2 separate regions of the Homo sapiens genome follow, and region 2 is linked to region 1. The links are contacts of gene promoters, found by promoter capture Hi-C in human tissues and cell types (Jung and others, 2019). All regions are on one chromosome and are shown on one strand. Each heading gives the region's core, a stretch centred on a gene start or on the middle of the fragment in contact. The rest is flanking DNA. Distances are from core to core; before and after follow the strand shown.

Region 1 (2,770 bases), core at 5-2,504:
GGTCTCTGGAGCCCAGTACAACCTTCTAAATATATAGTCTCTCCCTGCTAAAAACTTTTTAGGGTTCCCCTGTTATTCTTAAGATAAAGTCAAAATCCTCACAGACCTGCAAGAGTCTTCATTTCTTCATAATCTAGCCTAGAGATGGACAGAGGTAAGTCCATGCCCACCTCTCTACCTCTCACTTCTCTCTAGGTTTCAGAAACCCTGCTGTTTTCAGTTCCTAGAATACACTACCTTCCTTTTCGTCTCAGGAACTTTGCAAAAACAGCCCATTCCATCAGGAAAGCTCTTCCTCCGCATTACCTTTCTGCCCTTTAACTGGTCCAAGTATGAAAGCCACTTTCTCAAGAGGACCTCTCTAACTCCTTAGCCGGTCTCATCTTTCTGGTTAACAGTGTTTCCCAACAACCAGCTGCTCCCCATTGCACTTTTGGCAGTTATAATATGATCGGCTTCTTGAGGGCTGGAATCCTGGCCATCTTGCTCCCAAATGGCTCCCCAGTCAGTGCTCGATACATATTGAGAACGGATATGCATTTATCCCCCCTTACTCAGAACATACACTTCCCGCTCTGCAGGTACGTGCCCAAACCTGGTCCCGGATTCTCTCACCGCCTTTGGGGTGCGAGAGAGACCCCGCTCTGCTCCCGGGTGGGCGCTCCAGGGCTGAGACTGGAGGAACTAACCAGATGTGAATTCTGCATCTTCTCACTCCCAAAGACCCAAGCCGCGGCCGGGCGCGGTGGCTCACGCTTGTCATCCCAGCACTTTGAGAGGCCGAGGCGGGTGGATCACCTGAAGTCAGGAGTTCGAGACCAGCCTGGCCAACATGGTGAAACCCTGTCTCTACTAAAAATACAAAAATTAGCTAGGCTTGGTGGCGGGCGCCTATAATCCCAGCTACTCGGGAGGCTGAGGCAGGAGAATCGCTTGAACCCAGGAAGCGGAGGTTGCAGTGAGCCGAGATCGCGCCACCGCACTCCAGCCTGGGCGACAAGAGCAAAACTCCATCTTTAAAAAAAAAAAAAAAAAACACCCAAGCCTCAGTTTCCCCGAGATAAGGCCTGGGGCAAAGACCGCGGCCTGGAGACCTCAGGCCAAAAGGCGGGTCTCCCAGAAGACGGGGAAACCCACCACCCCACGCTGAGTTTTTACGCGCGCATTTTGAAAAACAGAAACAACAAAGGCGCTTTCAACTTACCCTCCGAAAGCGCCGCCACCTTTCTCCCAACCCGGAAGTGCTGCTGTTGAGGAAGCGGAAGTAGTAGTGCGTCGCCTTCCGGCCCCCTCGGCGTCACGCTGCCATGGTAACACGGCTGCCGCTAGGCCTTGGAGGCGCGCACATTTGCCTACCCATTTTCCTTCTGGGTCCTTTAGACGTCAGGTGGGGTAGAGAGTGCTCCTGAAACGAAGAAAGTAGGACAGAATCCCCCTCCATTGACGTACTAATGCATGCGTGCATTCCATTTATTCCAGTTTTTGGTGAACTCCAGGAACAACTTGGGAAGACAGATGACAAATCAACTAAGATAATTTCAGATTATCTTGTAAGGAAAATAAAACAGGGTGACGTGATGGAGAGTGACTAGGGGACGGTGGGTGCTACTTTAGATGTAAGAGAGGGCTCACTGAGGAGGTGACATTTGAACTGAGTTCTAAATGGAAAGGGCAGGCAAAAAATCTAGGCAGAAGAGTGTTCCAGGCTGGAAGTGAGTGCAAAAGTCCTGAACTTGGTTGCTGGAGGACCTGGGACAAGGCCAGAGCAGCTGGAGCACAGAGTGAATCCACACAGTGAACCCACAGGGTGACAGACAGGTCGCACACGCCCAGCCTAAGTGAATGCATGTGAATGCAGGGGAGGGGGTGGGAGAGGAAGTCAGAGGTCTGCAGGGGCTATCTGGTGCAGAGGCTGATGGATGTTAAGCTTGGATGAAGTCTCAGAAGTTTAGAGTTAGCAGGAGCTTTGGAGATCTATCCCAGTCTTCCCATTTCAACAGAGTCCTGAAGAGACTTAGCCAAAAGGGCAGCTTTAACCTGGCCATCAATTCGAGGCCATTATATTTACCAACCAAACGTTTAACCTTTTTGGATAGTGAACATATACGATATAGGCAACAAGTTTTCTCACTTAATCCTTGTAATGAGGTATTATTAGCCCCACCTTGTGGATGAGAAACCTGGGTTTACAGTAACTTGTCCAAGGTGACTTAAATGGGCCAGCCAGAAATCAGACCTATGCTCTTTCTACTACTCCACTATCTTGCCCCTCACTGTTCCACCTGACTTCTATGTGATCTGCCAAGTGGCTTTGATTAAAAAATGCACAAACTATGCTTCCGTGAAAGTCTGGAAGGGAAGCAGGTTGGAGAAACGATGAGCCTATGTATGTACTCATGTTGCCATGCAAGGGCTGCTCTGGGATGTGGACGTGCAGTTGGAGCTCCGTCTGGAGAAGTCTGTAAATGTGGTGTTGTCCACTGTTGATATGGAAGGCCTTGAAGTCCAGGTCCGTCATTGGTGTCACGTGTTCTGTGGTGACCCCACTTACCCAGAGCCTTGTGGTGCTAGTGATGCATGAATGAACCCACAAAAGGCTGGCACTAGAGGAGAGATTAGATATCATCCAGTATCGATTCAGGAAAACTCCAATAGTGGTTTCCAATCCTCCTCCAACTGCACCAATCACCTGGGAAGCTTTTTTTTTTTTTTTTCAAATGCAGAGTCTCAACTTTGCAATGGATTTTATATTAAACACTATTGTATCACA
Region 2 (2,700 bases), core at 96-2,595, 47 kb after region 1:
AAGTCTCTGAAGAAGGTGGCTTTTCTGTTTTACTCCAGAGAGAGCTATTGAACTGCCACTAACATTGGATTCTGCACCAGGAGTCAGGCCTGTGCCCAGCAACTAAGAATCAGGACTAGGACCTCGGTGGAAGCTCCAGGGAGGCAGACTCCAATTGGATATAAAGAAGAGGTGCCCGAGAGTGTGACGGATCTGTTGCTGAGATGGGGTGCCTCATGCAGCAGGGGTGCTCTGTCCCAGAAGGAACTAAACAGCCTGGAGACCCACTGACTCTGCAAGGAACATTTATTGGACCTGAGCAGGAGGGAGGACCAGATGACCCTTTCTGACTCTCAAATTCTTTGACTCTAAGAAGGAGTTCCATTCCTAATATACCTGAAAAGCTCTTAGTGGCGCTGCCATTAAGCAGAGTTAATGGCAATAAATTCTGCCATTGTATTTCTTGGCTAAGCAGAGAAAAGCATTAGACTCATGGTGTGTGCTCAGTCAACACGAACCACTTGGCTTTTCTTTTGCCAAGCAGCAAGTTAGTGAAGCTGGATGAACCTGGGGCATGGACCTGACACTCAGCCTTCACTCTTCCCTTCATGCCCTCAGTGAATCTCCATTTCCTCTTCTGTAAAAGGAGGGGAGTAACAGTGATTCCTAAAATCCTTCCCAAATTTAACGTTCAGCTTTTTAAAAAGCCAATATAGGCCGGGCGCAGTGGCTCACACCTGTAATCCTAGCACTTTGGGAGGCTGAGGCAGGTGGATTGCCTGAGCTCCGGAGTTCGAGACCAGCCTGGGCAACACGGTGAAACTCCGTCTCTGCTAAAATACAAAAAAATTAGCTGGGCAAGACGGCATGCGCCTGTAATCCCAGTTACTTGGGAGGCTGAGGCAGGAGAATTGCTTGAACCCGGGAGGCGGAGGTTGCAGTGAGCTGAGATCACGCCATTGCACTCCAGCCTGGGCGACAGAGCGAGACTCCGTCTCAAAAAATAAAATAAAATAAAGCCAATATAATTCATATATCTGGTGGAAGGAAATATATATCATGTTGGTTCCAATTGAAGCCAAAAGATTCATTTAAAAACCCCACAGAAACCGTTTGTTTTCATAAAAAGGGCTTCAGTGTGGGGGCTGGAGCCAGGGGCACCAGGTAATGAACCCCAACCCTGTATCTTGCTGCCCACTCTTGTAGCAATTCTTGGATTCTTGGGTAGGAGTCAGAAAGCTTGGATCATTCTGGATGTTTTCTCCCTTAATCAATCATCTTTTGGTCTCTCACTTCTGAGTACGTAAGAGCCATTTGCTTTTCACATTTACAATACTTTCTTTTGGAATGTTGTCCCTTACTGATTCAGAGAAAGGAGGACATTTGTTTTAACAGATTTGAATTTATCAGCGTGTGTATTTGCACCAAAGCATAATAATAATAAATTACAGTCCTAATAAGTAGGTTGCCCAGAAGGAGGGCGGTGGCACCCCCAATAATTGATGTACATTCTTTGCAATTTAGGGGCATCATAATTTATCGGGGTTCATTTTTTTTGTATCCAATTTGAAGAAAGGCAGCTGTGTTTTGTATGCAATAAACTCTGCCATTGTACTTCTTGGCTAAGCAGAGAAAAGCATCATAATTTTTTGCCTATTTCCTAGTTATTACTGCAGTATCTAGTAGCTTCTTTATGGGAAAGAGTTTATCAATATTTCAATTATAAACCCCAATTTTCAGGAGGGTTGTAACTCATCTATTTAAAAATCAGATCAGGCTGAAAACACAGTGAGTAGCTTGTCATCCCAGGAAACCGAGGGCTTTCTAAAATATTAAATAACCAGTGTAAGTCAGTTCGATTTCTTTGAACTTTTAGGGTAAAACTTTGGTTTTACTTCCCCACATGAATAAAGTGGAACTAAGCTTCTTTCTCCATAAAACGTGTTCAGGTGTTACTGAGGTTTCCATTTGCAAGTAAAGGGAACAGGTGCTGAAATCGGCATCTCTGATATTGTTCATTGGTTGGTGTGTTCTGGAAAAGCTGCCCACACATCACATTTTTTACCAATTGAGTGATAGTTTGATACAATGCCCTTTTGAATGGAACCACGTGGTGAATCCTTTTCTAGAAGTGAAGACTACTTCAGGAAAGCAAGTAAGCACTCCTAATTATGCAACAGTATCCTAGCTTTGAGAAGGCAGACATACCTATAACGTAGCCAGGGGCCAGCATTGCCCTTGTTATTGAGTGGATGGGGACAGGCCAGCCATCTAGTGGCCCAGCCCTCCTGGTAGACATGTGGACCTCAGGCACCTAAGGCCATCTGTTGACTTCAATCAGTCAGTGACTTGAGCCAATTCTCCCCACCCAAACCACACACTGAGGCACTTCTTTCAAAGTCCCCTTAAGTCAGAGAGTGATCACTTAGACCATCCCAGGATTACCTGAAGTGAGGACATCACAAAATGTCATAACATCCTACAAAAAAAAAGAAAGAAAAGGCAATAAATTAGCCTGCACAAAGAACTCCAGTCCATGGGAAGGCCCAGTGATATCTTGTGAAGTTTGTTCTACTCGCAGATCCTAGCTGGCCCTTTCCTAGGCTTTATCAGGCCTGGGACCTTGTTGATGGCAATACCATCTGTCATTGCAGCAGAGCCCAGTAGTGTGGGGTTCTTACCTTAAAAAGTGGAACTGGCTGGGTGCTGTGGCTTACACCT

What was found. The method cuts DNA at HindIII sites, captures the fragments that hold promoters and counts their contacts. A contact is called where the count stands out against the background at its distance.
Region 2: a contact is called between a fragment that was not itself captured here and the fragment with the promoter of TTF1 in region 1, in 1 of the 25 tissues and cell types used here (thymus).

Annotation. Positions count from the first base shown.
Region 1 is chr9:132,405,586-132,408,355 of GRCh38, forward strand. It overlaps TTF1 (transcription termination factor 1), which reads right to left and starts at 1,255. Exons shown (of 11, transcript NM_007344.4): 1 at 1,205-1,255. The HindIII fragment of the contact is 7,318 bases long and covers 1-2,312 here.
Region 2 is chr9:132,452,549-132,455,248 of GRCh38, forward strand. The region is part of intron 1 of CFAP77 (cilia and flagella associated protein 77); the gene reads left to right. Among named protein-coding and RNA genes, the nearest start is that of CFAP77, 44 kb to the left of the region's middle. The HindIII fragment of the contact is 4,956 bases long and covers 1-2,700 here.